Linked DNA regions of Homo sapiens: all the other regions are linked to region 1. The links are contacts of gene promoters, found by promoter capture Hi-C in blood cells and fetal thymus (Javierre and others, 2016). All regions are on one chromosome and are shown on one strand. The core of a region is centred on a gene start or on the middle of the fragment in contact, and the rest is flanking DNA. Distances in the headings are between cores, read along the strand shown.

What was found. Contacts are between HindIII fragments. The CHiCAGO score rates a contact against its expected background, and 5 or more counts as called.
Region 2: a fragment that was not itself captured here is called in contact with the fragment with the promoter of TANK in region 1 in 1 of 17 cell types (naive CD8 T cells); the score reaches 5.5 in naive CD8 T cells.
Region 3: a contact is called between a fragment that was not itself captured here and the fragment with the promoter of TANK in region 1, in 2 of 17 cell types (non-activated CD4 T cells and naive CD4 T cells). The highest score is 5.3, in non-activated CD4 T cells.
Region 4: a fragment that was not itself captured here is called in contact with the fragment with the promoter of TANK in region 1 in 4 of 17 cell types (total B cells, neutrophils, naive B cells and 1 more); the score reaches 9.7 in total B cells.
Region 5: a contact is called between a fragment that was not itself captured here and the fragment with the promoter of TANK in region 1, in 1 of 17 cell types (total B cells). The highest score is 5.4, in total B cells.

The regions. Positions count from the first base shown.
Region 1 is chr2:161,158,955-161,161,816 of GRCh38, reverse strand. TANK (TRAF family member associated NFKB activator) reads right to left here and starts at 1,389. Exons shown (of 8, transcript NM_001199135.3): 1 at 1,331-1,389. TANK-AS1 (TANK antisense RNA 1) reads left to right here and starts at 1,527. Exons shown (of 3, transcript NR_187173.1): 1 at 1,527-1,685; 2 at 2,581-2,652. RefSeq lists an enhancer at 916-1,679. The HindIII fragment of the contact is 6,780 bases long and covers 1-2,862 here.
Region 2 is chr2:160,277,649-160,280,510 of GRCh38, reverse strand. RBMS1 (RNA binding motif single stranded interacting protein 1) reads left to right here. Exons shown (of 14, transcript NM_016836.4): 11 at 1,853-1,963. Among named protein-coding and RNA genes, the nearest start is that of LINC02478, 7.2 kb to the right of the region's middle. The HindIII fragment of the contact is 3,110 bases long and covers 1-2,862 here.
Region 3 is chr2:161,952,185-161,955,046 of GRCh38, reverse strand. All of the region lies in intron 19 of SLC4A10 (solute carrier family 4 member 10), which reads right to left. Among named protein-coding and RNA genes, the nearest start is that of DPP4, 120 kb to the left of the region's middle. The HindIII fragment of the contact is 1,477 bases long and covers 777-2,253 here.
Region 4 is chr2:160,374,188-160,377,049 of GRCh38, reverse strand. All of the region lies in intron 1 of RBMS1 (RNA binding motif single stranded interacting protein 1), which reads left to right. Among named protein-coding and RNA genes, the nearest start is that of MIR4785, 32 kb to the left of the region's middle. The HindIII fragment of the contact is 1,146 bases long and covers 823-1,968 here.
Region 5 is chr2:160,430,452-160,433,313 of GRCh38, reverse strand. The region is part of intron 1 of RBMS1 (RNA binding motif single stranded interacting protein 1); the gene reads left to right. Among named protein-coding and RNA genes, the nearest start is that of MIR4785, 24 kb to the right of the region's middle. The HindIII fragment of the contact is 1,024 bases long and covers 1,004-2,027 here.

The DNA of each region.
Region 1 (2,862 bases), core at 140-2,639:
TAGTCTAATGAGAAACAGATAATTTTGAAGAATACTGGGCAATATATACGGACAGGACATAGTAAGTGACAGTTAACTATAATTTGGTACATCTACACAATGCAGTACCACGCCAACATTACAATAAAATAGAGCTACATATGGCAAGACTTTCACCATATATATATATTTAATCTGAAACAGATTATCGAACAGTATGCATAATCTCATTTTCATAAGAAAGCAAAATAACATGGTTATGCACATACAGGAAAGATGTGGAAGGCTTGGATTACAACTGGGGAGAGGACTGAGAAGGATTTCACTTCCTGCTTTGCACATAGTTGTATTATTTGAGGATCCCTCCTCTCTCAAATGAGGACACAATAATTTTTAACAGAATGCACTGCTTGCTTCTCTGCTACCTCTCGTTTGGGTGTGTATTCCAACCGCGGTAAGAAGGCAGGTCATTTTCTTTTCCTTCAATTTCACGTCGCTTCTTCACTTCCTTTACTACCATCTCTCCCTTATTATAACTTGTCAAAAGCATCTCCTGTGAGGTGAGATAAACACCACTTTACATAGCAAGGCTGCTTTACTTTTGCTCGTTATAGCATAACAATAAAGGCACAGCTCTTCTTTGATTATCCTCCCCCTTTCTACTTCTAGAAAAGCACAGCTTTTTTGCCTGTAACTCGTTGCTAGTCAGTTTACACCGGCGTGAGGACTCTACCTAACGCCTGGGTTCCCACTGTGGGCGGGGTTGGCTTCTGTTCTTCCTGCCTTGGCCACCCACTCCCTCCGTGACCCTCTGGGAAGTTACCCAACTTCTCATTGACCAGGCTATGATGACACCCCACAGGAAGGCAGAGGGGAATTGTGCAACCACCTTGGGAAAACAACAGAAAGAACCAATTAAGTTTTCGAAAGAGTAACCACGATACTACTTGATTCTAGGAGGCAGTCTCTCTCCCGAAGGGAAGTCGGGAATGTTCCTGGAGGGTCCACTGCTCACCTCGACACCGCAGGCCCTTCCACCCCCATTTCCCGGGCAAAGCAGCCGGGACGAGTCCCTCCCTTGAAGCCGTTGGGGCAGAGGCCGACGATGCTATGCTGACATCGCGGGCCCGGAAACCAACCCACAAGGAGTCCGCTCCGGGGGAAGGACTCGCGTGGTTTCTCCCGCACAAAATCCCTCCCCAAACTGCAAATTGGTTGTCTCCGCTGCTCCTCGGCTTCTCTCCCTGCGGCGCCCCTACTGTCAGCGCGTCCCTCTCGCTCACGCATACAAATTCTCCGACGTCGTGCTTGACGGATTCGGACACACCAATTCACAAAGTTTCTTACTCACACAGTTCACGCTTTCAGCTGCGTTCCCTCTCCCCTCAGGTCGCCGGCGCCTGGCCGAGTGACTCCAACCGGAAGTTGCATTTTGTTCCAGTTCAGAGGGCAGTGCCTGCGCGCGGAGCCATTAACTCTTCACCTCCACCCAACAAGGCCAGGGCCCTTCCGCCCTGCCCCACCCAGCCCAGGGCTCTTCTGCCCCGCCCCTGCCCGCCCCGCCTAGCGCCCTCCCCCAGCCCTGCCCAGCCAAGTCCCCGCCTCTTAGAAAAAAAAAGCGTCAGCAGCGGAAGAGAATCCTATGTCAAGTGTAAAGGTCACTTGTGAGTCTTTGCTGGATTTTTTTGCCAAACGATAAATAACCGGTAAATAAATAACCAGTAAATAAATAACATCACCCTATATATGAGTTAGAGTACACAAGAATCACCTGAGAAACAAAATGTAGTTTCACCAACCGACTCCTACAGCTTTCATTTCAGAGCAACTGGAGTGAAGCCCAGGAACCTGCATTTTCAACAGATCCTCGTAAATTTATGTAATTAAACGTGGTTAAAGTCCACACTCTGAGAAACACTACATATACACATACCCATTTGGTTTCTCCCCAACTGGTAGTATTTTTCACTAAATGTATTTGTTAAAGAGGAATGGCTGGAAATGGAGGTGGAACTTTATTAGAAAATTTCCCATGAATTAAGACTTTCCCATTATTCCAATTCCTAGCCATGCATGAATATTATCTAAGATTCATATCTTAGATACCGCAAGAAAGATATCTTTTCCCTTTAGGGCAAGAGGATGAGGTCTGGCTGCCCCAATTTCTCCCTGTATTTCTGAATCATGGATGTTTACACATCTTTCCTTAGGCCAGTAAGTCCAAGGATTTAAAAACCTGCCAAGTTGCAGTGCATTCTGTCTAGTTATCTTGAATGTTGCTGTATACTTTTAAAAGTCAAAGCCTAAATATATTTGAAACAATGTTTTTAACAAACAGAAACTTCTTATATATAACGTTTTGACCAGTTGAATAGTTTTCTTGTAATAAGTAATTGAGTTAAACATCACAATACAGTACTGCTTTAAAAAAATTATTTAAACTTTTTTTGAGGGCAGTTTTAGATTCACAGCAAAATGGAAAGGAATGTCCAGAGATTTTCCATATACTTTCTGCCCCGACACAAGCATAGCCCTTCCCCATTATCAACATCCCTCACCCCAGTGTGATGAAAAAAAGCTGTTATAAATATCTGTGTGCAGGTTTTTTTGTGCGGACATAAGTTTTCATCTCCTTTGGATAAATACCAAGTAGTATGATTGCTGGATCATAAGGTAAGAGAATGTTTAGTTTTGTAAGCAATTGCCAAATTGTCTTCCAAAGTGGCTACCATTTTGCATTCCCACCAGGAATGAATAAGAGTTCCTGTTGCTCCAAATCCTTGCCAGCATTTGGTGTTGTAAGTGTTCTGGATTTTGGCCATTCTAATAGATGTGTGTCATATTTTATTGTTGTTTTAATTTGCATTTCCCTGATGACATATG
Region 2 (2,862 bases), core at 192-2,691, 880 kb after region 1:
CAGACAGCAATTTGTCTTCGGATACCTTTTAAAGTGGATACTGCGATGTAAGACCATGTATATGAAATAGCAATCCAGGGATAACAGGTTCTGAATGAGAAATTGCTGAGATGACCTTTAAGAAGCAGATAAAACATGTTTAGGTGATGAAATAGGAGAGGCGCGCTCTGATATATGTATACGTTTTGTGTGATATATACACATACATATAGATCTATACATGTGCACATACATAGACACATCTTCAAACCCACACTTACCTGTACATGTGTACATAATATACATGCACTGATCCACACATGCCCATAGCAATCTGTGTCCCTGATACTCCATGCTACCCTATTTTGGAATGCTTGGAAATCAGCTTGCTTTGAATTTGAGGACTTCCTATTACAGATGGTGCCAATGAATGAGAAAAAGGAGCAGGAAACTGCTCCACCATCTTCTAGGCTTCTGAGTCATTTCCGTGTTACCACTTGCTTTTTGATGATGCATGTTAAAAAAAAAATTTCTAACAGAATGTATTAATGACAAACATTATCTCTGACACACATCTATATCTTTTTTTCTTTTTGGCAACATTTGAGAAAAAGACTGCACGTATCTGAGCTTAACATCTTTGAGGAGACATTAGGAATGTAAGCAGAAGGTTGCTATCTGAGGATTCATTACCTTTCCCCACCCAGCTTTAAACTGCCTGATTTACATCAGAATTAAAGTTCCTGTACACCTAACTCTGTCCTAGATTGTCTATCTAATTATCAATAAATAACAGTTGTATTTAAGGGATGCCAGGTACAGTGATAACAAAACATACATTAGTAGTTACAGAGCGTGTCAGAATACTTGCATTCTCAGATAATGAGGTGATTGCAAAAGTCCAAAAATAAAGAGTTCATTGAATTTTGGTTTATACAATCAATGTAACCATTTAAAAAAATGATGATAATGATAGTTTTTCAACAAGCTAGGTAAATGGTTAGAATAGAATGCAAAGTTAAGAGCAAAATCCCAGGATATGAAGTTGTTGATGTGCTCTGATTGAACCTGTACAGAAACACACAGAGGCTATGATCTGGCAGTAGTACCCTGACATTGCTAACAGTGGTTGTATTAGACTGGCTGAGTTAGAAGCAATTGTTTTTTTTTTCCCTCCTATTTTCCTAAATATATTTAATTTGATTTTAATGACTAACATTTTTTCAAATTAAATAAAAGAATCTGGACTCAGATTATTAATCATATCTGAATTGCCTTCCCTCCCAGGCACCAAAATGTAACTTAAAGTTCTGAGAAACACTGAGTGAATGAAGAAATGTGCTCTTGATCCTAACAACCTGATCTTGAACCAGACGATTATCTGGATAGAACATTGTTAAACAAAATACTATATTGATCTTATTAAATATAATACATTGTTTGGTGACTGGAGAAAACATCAACTGCCTTTTTTTTCCAGATTTTTTTTTAAGAAAGCGTTTTGTAACCCTAGGCAGGCAGTGATAATCAGTTTGTTTTTCCTATGATAGCTCCTCCTGCTGGACTAGCTTGCTTCCAGTTACTGGAAGTGAAGGGAAAGGGAAGGAGAAGAGGGACACTGGCTTTAATACAGGGATTGTTGTGAAGTGAATGCCAAGATATCATTTCCCCTAACGCTCTTAAAAAACTCTCAGGAAGAGCAATTTAGAAGATTTTTAGGAAACTGTTTATGATGCCATTTGCAAGATTGAGGAAGGTTGTTTTTGCTTCACATTCTTAAACAAACTAAGGTATTTCCTTTGTAAAAAGTAATTACAGGATCTTAACTCTTGCCTCAGTTTGTCTAATTTTGCTCCTGTCTCCAACTCCCCAGGGTGCCGTGTTAACTCCCTCAATGGAGCACACCATGTCACTACAGCCCGCATCAATGATCAGCCCTCTGGCCCAGCAGATGAGTCATCTGTCACTAGGCAGCACCGGAACAGTAGGTGGCAAATAATTATCATGTGTCTCTGTAAACAGAGGAGGGTAAATTAATGCAGCCTGTATCTTCCCTATCAAATGACAGCCTCTATGATAACAGATTATGTCTAATCCCCTCTCTTCCCCCCACATGACCTTCCATAAAGTAAATACTCAGCTATTTCTTAATTAATTGATGAACTGAAAGTCTATTCTCTGGGTATCTCTCCTTTACGAGAATATAGCACCCACACGTGACCACATCTAGCCTTTTATGACTAGTGTCATCTATATAACTAGTACCACTGTCCCTGTGGCAGTGTCATGAAGCGAAAGACGAAGGTAATACAAGATGGTAAAAGCAGGGAATTATTTCTCGCTTATTTCTTCTTTTATGGAGTTTGGGAGTATTGAATCATGGTCTTAATATTGAAATATTTCACCAAAGTCCAGGGGACTCCTTTGGGTAATGAGGTTGAGCTGGCACCAGATCAGCTTCCAGATTTGATGCTTAGCATTTTGCTGGTAAGATGGCTAAAGGATTTTAATTTAGCCTCTATTCTATAGTGGCTTAAAAGAACAAAGGGTGGTGCGTTTTCCCCTTATACACTCAAAACCTACAGCTGTTTCTTGTGAAGGCTAAGCCAGGGCCACACATATCCAATGAGACTGACTAGAAATTTCTCCTGCCTTTGGGAAAGGATGACTGTCAGTGTCAGAAAAGCCAGGCTCTGCTGCCTAATCTGCAGTGACCTGTTAGAGGTCTAATAAGTCTTACCCCTGTGGGCTCTACCTGTAGAAACAATACTAGGTACTAGTTTAGGGGGCTGCTAGAAAATAATGAGGTCCTTTGAGGAGAGATCTTCTAAAATCACACATTAGTGATACTGAATTATTGAGAGTGACAAACTTTTTTATCTT
Region 3 (2,862 bases), core at 266-2,765, 790 kb before region 1:
AGAGGAGCTGGTGGCTGTGAGATGAGCATCAGAGGAGGGCAGAAGACAGGGGGCCTTGAGAGTCAGGCTTGTACTTTTTAGCACACCTGGACTTTCTCAGAGTCCACATTCACTACATCTCAATAATATGAGGGAGATCTTTGTCGCGATAGTGATTTCCAATAGCTCTTATTGAATGTTTTAAAAATATGATACAAATGTAAACAGTGGGATTCTGAATTGCAGGAAGTAGGCAAAATAATTCTTTCAGAGGAAATAATTTCTTTTCTAAATTTATAAAGCTAGTTTTGTAATATATAAATATATAACAAAAACAAAAATATAATTTCCCCTAATTATGCTGTACAACAATGGCAGCATCTTGATTTAATGTAAACCAAAGGAAATAAATAAAGCAGTTCTTGCTCTTCCCCTAACTAACCAGTATCCTTCTTGCCTTTCATTTAAAATGTCTTTAAAAACTTGGACTTTGTAACAAAATTATTAGCTGATAGGCATGCCAGCCAAAGAGAAGTATCCCTTTGTCAGACAGAGAACTCTACACCTTCTAACATATTTCTGTAGATTTTTTTCTCAAATAAAGACAGAGCTAGAGCTTTTATTCTCACATTCATCCATGAATCACAGGAAATGGACATATGGGAGGAAAAGGGAGCATAGCAACAGGTGATGCTACACCAGACCCCACTAAAACCAACATGCAGCAAGACAAGAGGCCAGCCAAGAGGACCATCTGATACCCAGATGCCACTGCTGAAAAAATTCATTTCAAAGCTTGGCAGCAATTTCCTGCATCTGTCAAGTTAACCACATAAAAGACTATAGATTGACATGAAGAACCAGGCTGACAAAGAGGGCAAAAAAGAACATATCAAATGCCATAATCATCAAGAGAATATGGTGCCAAATGAATGTTGCAAATGCATTCATTTACTCAAGTGATCCGGGATTGTATTGCTGTTTATTAAAAATGATGTCAAAAGAAGCCTGAACTGTCTACAGAAACATGTAGAAAAGCCCACAGTTGTATCTTAACAGAAACTTTCTTTTTTATAAGATTTTATCTCTCTTTTCACATTTAGAGAATGTGCTTTAAAAAACCCAAGTAGATATTTTTAATGCTTTTCAAAAGGATTCAGTTAACTTATGCCTAATCCACTTCTCTAAGGGAGAAACAAACAAACAAATGCTAGAGAGAGTATGGATTTATATGTACATTTATGTATAATATACATGATACTTCACATTCTCAAATTTTTGTATTTGCCTCTTCTTTCACTCTGGAGCCATCCAAAGGATCATAGGATGCAATGAGTTCGAGGTTTACTGATTTTGAGCTCCCCCATTCTTCGGGAGTAGTAAGTCACCTATGCAGTGCAACACAGCTTTATTGTGTAAATAGTGACACTCATGAAATGATAAAAACATTTTTTTTTTTTGAGACGGAGTCTCACCCTGTCGCCCAGGCCAGGGTGCAATGGCATGATCTCATCTCACTGCAACCTCTGCCTTCCAGGTTCAGACGATTCTCCTGCCTCAGCCTCCTGAGTAGCTGGGATTACAGGTGCCCGCCACTACGCCCAGCTAATCTTTGTGTTTTTAGTAGAGATGGGGTTTCACCATGTTGGCCAGGCTGGTCTCTAACTCCTGACCTCGTGATCCACCTGTCTCGGCCTCCCAAAGTGCTGGGATTACAGGCGTGAGCCACTGTGCCTGGCCAATAAAAACATTTTTATCAGCAGGAGAAATATCATCTAAAAGAAAACCAGCTACTAGTTCTGGCAATAGAGGTGAAGAAAAAGTAAAAAGATCTAAAATATGTTTGGGAGAGATAAAGAATGAAATGAGGAATTCTGAGTTGACTTGGGTGTATGTAGACTTAGATACATGATGTGGAGTCTACCAAGTGTTTGATACATAAACTACAAAACATGATTCATTAAACAATTTCGGGGAATGCTCCAACCAAGGCAAAAATGGGTTTTCAAGTGAGAAAAGAAAATTAGTAAAAGCTGAAAATGCTTTCACAAGTGGTTAGCTTGTGGTCTGGTGATATACTCAAGAAACACATCTTTTAGTGAAAATGTGGTTCAAGTCAAAGCCAGGAGACTTTGCAAACATTTCAATGAAGCAACAGGCGGGGAGAAGGACTATGGAACAAACCGTTACTCTGAGTAAATAACATTCTGAGAAGGTGATTTTGTTGTTGTTAACGGGAAAACCAGTAGCATCAGACCACACTCTATAGAAGCTTATAGGAGACAAGAGTTATAGGCCCAATAGGGGTTCAATGTAGATGAAATACATCTTCACTGGAAGAAATTTGCTTTAAAAGTATTCATATCTAAGAAGGAGGATGGAGAGTTCAGATTCACAGTGGCCAAGAACAGGCTGACTCTTCTGCCTGTGGCCATATAGCAGAGTTTATGATTAAGCCAGATTTGCTGTATCATTTACTAAATCCAGAGTAGTAAGGGGCAAAAATACACAACTTTTGACTACATAATCATTTATTTGCACAATAAAACAGATTTAGTAATGTAGCCTCAGGTTTATTTCAGTGACAAAAATAGTTCTAGTTCTGCATTTAATTCTATAAATGCAAGTACTTGAAAGGACCACTTAAAGAATGCTTTACTACATTTTTGTTATTCCACAGTATATGTGAAGGGGGAAATTAGTGTATTTGTCAATGTGGAGCTTTACAAAGGCTGTGAATGTCAAGGGCTCATGAAGAACAAGGAGTAAGAGCAAGTGTCATGTGATTTATAAGGTTGAAAGGGCAAAGATTCAGAATGGCCAGGAAGGTAATATCAATCTCAGCACACATTTCACTTCCACACTTTGTTTTAATATGATTCC
Region 4 (2,862 bases), core at 146-2,645, 780 kb after region 1:
CCATCTCTTCCCCTCTATCTTTATTCACACACACAAACATGACTGTTCACACACGCAAACATGACACAGAAATACACAGATTGACCAGGCCCAGTGGCTCATGCCTGTAGTCCCAGCACTTTGAAAGGCTGAGGCAGGAGGATCTCTTGAAGCTGAGTTCAAGAGCAGCCTGGGCAACACAGGCAATAAAGTAAGATCCAGTCTCTACAAAGAAAGTTTTTATTTATTTATTTATTTATTTATTTGATTAGCCAGACGCGATGGCATGCTCCTATTGTCCCAGCTACGTGGGAGGCTGTGACAGGAGGATTACTTGAGCCCAGGAGTTTGAGGGTGTGGTGAGCCATGATTGCACTACTGCATTCCAGCCCATGAGGCAGAGCGAGACTCTGTCTCTTAAAAAAATAAAATAAGATAAATTAAAAAATAAAAAAAAGAAATACATAGACTGATATATAATAGAAGAGCTGTTCTAGTATCACTCACTTTCTCTAATTATTCATATCAGATATAAGCTACTAGATTTTACCATGAGAAAGAAACAAAAGTAGACAGTATTGTTGAGTTATATTAATTCAAAAAATTTTCTCAGTGATGTTTATACACAAAATTACAACATTGTCAGATAAGATTTTATGTTTTTAAGTTATTATTATGGGGAGATTGCAAATACTTGTTCAGTTTCCTGTAAGTACAGATAATGCTTTTTTCTCTAGGGGCTAAATTGTGAAACCCATGGTACTGCAAGGTCATTCACATGTCCCGCTGGATCTAAGAATAAATAAATAAGTTGGTTTTGTGGGAGTATTTTTTTTATAAGCTTACTCATATAAGTTTTCTAACTTAATATTTAATCACCTAATAATACTTTCAGTAAGTTTGTTTAATGTGGAGAAAGTATGTTTTTGAATGGGTATTTTCCACCCTGAGGACTTTACAATCTCAGCGGTAATTCATTACTTACAAGAAATACTAAGATACAGACTGTACTGTAGATAGACTTTAAAAAACAGCTGGGAGGAAGTTGTCAGCCCTGGAATCCTAAATCTACTGGGGTGAGGCAGGAAATGCATTGCAGAGGTATTCTGAACTGTCATGATAAAAGTAATGTTTCACTTCCCCTAGGAAGTTTTCTTTCTTTTTTTTTTTTTTTCCATTTATTTTGAGTAAAAAGTAAAGGAAGAGTTTGCTCTTGTCCCCTTCACAAGGCTCTGTGTTGAGGAAGAAAACTGGCATGGATCTGGAAATTCAAGGAGGAGGAAAACACTGCACACCTGCATTCAGAATTCAGAAGAATAATTAATTTTGCACCTGAAGTTGGGTGGGATTTTGTGTTTACTGCGTTCTAATTACTGTTTGTTTGGGCTGTAATTTATTTATTGTGTTGAATTTTCTTTTAAAGTGGTTTTGGAGCTGTTACAGGGTCCTTTTATATAGAAGAGATTGAATAGAATGTGAAATGTAACTCTTTATACTGATTACACGTTGAAACACAAAGATGGCAGGCTGCTAAGTAACATACAGTCTCTATAGATCTTAAGTTACTATGGTTATTTCAGCTGTAATATTGTTTCTACCTTAAGGATACTCTGGTTTCAGGAGCTCTTTAAGATTGTTTTTTGTTTTACATTTGTTCCTTTAGGCTTCAGTTGTTGTTTTAGGATAGCTTACATATTTAGAATATTTTCTTAGAATCACTTATGACTAAGTCGGGAATCCATGCTGGCCTAAGGGGCATAGGAAAATGGTGCCGCAGTATGATGTCTGTTGGTCTTAAGTTGCACGATGTCACAGAAGTTGGCCTTGGAGTCTGCCAGTTTAACAAACTCTTGCTCCATTTCTCTATTTGGCAGACAGACAAGAGTACTAAAGGTCCTGACTGGGCTCTGTCTTGATATGTCTTATCTGGAGATGGCACTGTCCAGCACTATCCAGAATTTTAGAGTATTTTGGAGCTGGAAGGAAGCTTAGAAATCATCCAGGCTAACCTGCTTATTTCACACGTGAAGACCTGAGCCTTCCAGGGATAATACTCATTCCTGCTCCTGGCCAGGACAAAACTTGAATCTGGATATTCTAACTTTTCCGTTCAATTCCTCCCCCCCACCGTCCCCCGCCCGAGATGTAGTTTCACTCTTGTTGCCCAGGCTGGAGTGCAATGGTGCAATCTCAGCTCACTATAACCTCTGCCTCCTGGGTTCAGATGATTTTCCTGCCTCAGCCTCCCAAGTAGCTGGGATGACAGGCGCCCACCACCACACCTGGCTAATTTTTGCATTTTTAGTAGAGACAGGGTTTCACCATATTGGTCAGGCTGGTCTCGAACTCCCGACCTCAGGTGATCCACCTGCCTTGGCCTCCCAAAGTACTAGGATTACAGGCATGAGCCACCGTGCCCAGCCAATTTTTTTTATTATTATTGTTATAAACATTATTTTTATAGAAGGAAGGGAAGTGTTTTTCTAGTTTTGCATTCTCCAGAAGCCATGCTCTTCATTTACTGTGTTTAAATTCTTTTCTACATGTGAGATTCTGGTAACCTGTGACATCATGTCCACATTCCACCTTGCTTTTTAGGTTCTTCCTACTACCTTTTTAGTACCACCACACTCCTACCCCAACATCAACTTGTGGGAGCTTCCTCTGAACCAACCAGGGTAATTCTCTGGCTTTTGTGAAGAATGATCCTTCCAGTCTATGTCCTTGTTGGTCACTCCTCTTCTTACTCTACCCACCTTTCTTTCAGATTTGCCATTCCTTTTATTGTTTTTGTTTGTTTGTTTGTTTTTGTTTTTGAGACAAGGTCTCGCTCTGTTACCCAGGCTGGAGTGCAGTGGCACAATCACAGCTCACTGCAGCCTT
Region 5 (2,862 bases), core at 266-2,765, 730 kb after region 1:
CCTCCCGAGTAGCTGAGACTATGGGTGTGCACCACCACACCTGGCTAGTTTTTGTATTTTTTTGTAGAGACAGGGTTTCACCATGTTGCTCAGGCTGGTCTTGAACTCTTGAGCCCAAGCGATCCACCTGTCTTGGCCTCCCAAAGTGCTGGGACCACAGATGTGAGCTACCTCACTCAGTCTAAAGATTTTTTTTTTTTTTAATATTCGTATCAAAACCAGTGAGAGTAGGTGCTCATCCCGGAGATGTGACCAGTTAGCTAGAAGCCAGGAACCTCAGAAGAGAAGAGTAGCTCGTAACTCAGCTTGCTGGATCCAACAGGATGAGAATTCCCTGAGGATTGGGCAACTAGGGTGATTTCCCAGATCTAATTCTGCTCTGTTCTGGGTAGTTGGGCAGGCTATGTAGTATATCCGAATTCCAAACCATTAAGTGAAATGCTTGTTATTAGTGATACCCAATCATTGTTTCATGACACACCAGTGTGTCACAAAGATTTCCTGCAGTGTTGGCAGTGAGCCTCACTTTTCCCAAAGCTCTGGCTCCTTCTCTGACACATTGCCACCAGGTGGCCTGCGTGACCTTTACTCCCTTTTCCCCGCCCAAACATCTTACATTCCTTATACCTTATATCTGGATTTAAGAAAAGACTTCTTTTGGACAATTGATTTGCAGTTCCTAATCTGAGTTCTTACACAGTTGCCAAGCTATTATTGCTGCAAGGAGTTAAATCGGTTTTCACACAGTTCTAATAGTTTATTGTCAAAATGTCATTTATTTGAGTTAAGCATTGCCAATGCCCCCATTAAACCACTGTTTCTTTTATTTCCTGGAGTTTGGAAGGCATTCGGGAATACCAAGTGAAAAGGAAGAGTGAAGAACAGAAAAATGTTAGTGGGATGGCAAACACTGTGAACATTGCTGTTTCTAGTGGGCCAGAAAAATGTATGTATAAATCTTCCCTGTTCTTAGAGGCGCTTTCAGATTCTCCTCCACAAAGCTTCCTATGGTCACCATTTAGAGTCAATCCCCTTTTCCCTGTTCTCCATGGTATGTTATTTAGTTCTCTTCATATTACTGGATCAGAGTCTGCTTTACCACTTGGTCATTTGTGCATGTCTTTTTCTTACTGAAACTGTCAGATTCTTCTTTGTATCTTCAGAAGTACATATAATATAATGTAACATATGCAAGTTTATATGTAGACATACATTTTTAAATTCTTTAAATATAATAGATTCATGTTCAATAAATAGTATTGAATACCTATTCTGTACTATACAAAACACTGGTGATAAAACAATGAGCAAAACAGGCACAACCCCGTTTCTCAAAGAGCTTTTATAATGAGGCAGAAAGGATGGACATTAAATAATAATTTAGATTGCAGCTTTGTGAGTCCAGAAAAGGAGATATACAGTATGCTATATGAGGGTTATATAACAGGAAGACCCAGCCTATTCTGGGGATTAAGAGGGAAGATTTTCTGGTATAAGTAATTTAAGCCGAGCCTTGAAGAATAAGTTGGAGTTAACTAGGCAAAGAGGTAGAGAAGGAGCATTCCATGCATAGAGAATAGCATGTGTGAAACATACTGCTGGATTGGTTGCCTTGCAAGTATAAGGAACTGAAAGTCCAGATTACCTGGTTCTTAGTGGTGAGGAAGACAATAGTGCAAGATAGTACTGGAGAAATAAGTATGAGTCAAGTCTTGCAGAGATATGTGGGCCATGTGAAAGATTTGGTTCTTTAGCCTAAGATTATGAAACAGACTTTGGAAGGTATCAAGTAGAAGATGCTTAATCTACATTTATCTTAACAGCCTCCCAGTAGATTCCTGGCTTCCAGCCTCTATAACTTAACATTTATACTTATTGTTCTCATTTGCATTGTGACTGCTGTGGGAAACGAGGAAGTAGCATGTCTTCTGCAGGTAATGAGAACCTTTGTACCAAAAGATAGTGGGATGCTTGCTTCCTCAGAAAAGAATCTGGCTAGTAGGTTGATTCGGTCTGGATCCAAAGCTTTCAAAACTTGAATTTTATTCTGTCTTGAATGTGGACCACTTAGTTTATTCTGAAAATCTGATTTCTAGCAGATTTTCAGAATAAACTAATAAATCCAAGAATGGCCTGGGTTACCTAGGCAATAGTCTAATTTTATTAGACTATTTTATTAGACTATTGCCTAGGTAACCCAGGCCATTCTTGGATTCTGAGACCATTCCTCCTGCCACACACAACTCCCCGCAAGAACACTTAGCTATCAGTGGGAAAAATCCAGTGTCTTTCTCTTGCTGGGACCGTCATGTCCATATCAGTCATATACAATATCACAGGTAACCCTGGAGGAGGGAAAGGGGGATGGGGAACCAAAATGCAAAGGACCTGGTGCTAAGCGCCCCATCATTATTTCATGCAACTGAAAGTCAAGCAGATAGGAGAGTTGTAAAACTTGTCTACAATGAGAATAAGCAAGGAAAGAATTAAGGGTCATTTCACATTTAAAAATTCAGCTTACCACTTGAAGCTGTCAGTGCTTTGTGTGTAGAACTTTCAAATAATTAACATTTCTCAAACATCAAAACACAGCTAGAGGTGTGCATAAATAAAGAGGCACAGGTCCCAAAATACTATTTTTACTTTTTGAACTGGTAGGACTAATAGAAAAATAAATGAATACAATTGTTTAGATTAACTAGTTCTTATGGAAAAGAAGCACGGGAGAAAGTAGTTGTTAACCAATACTTGATTATTTGTTAATCACTACTACATAAGATAAAAAGTAGAAAAATAGGGATATATAGCATTTACTTAAGAGAAACATCTCTCTCTTAAACTTTGTATTTGTTTTTAAGCACT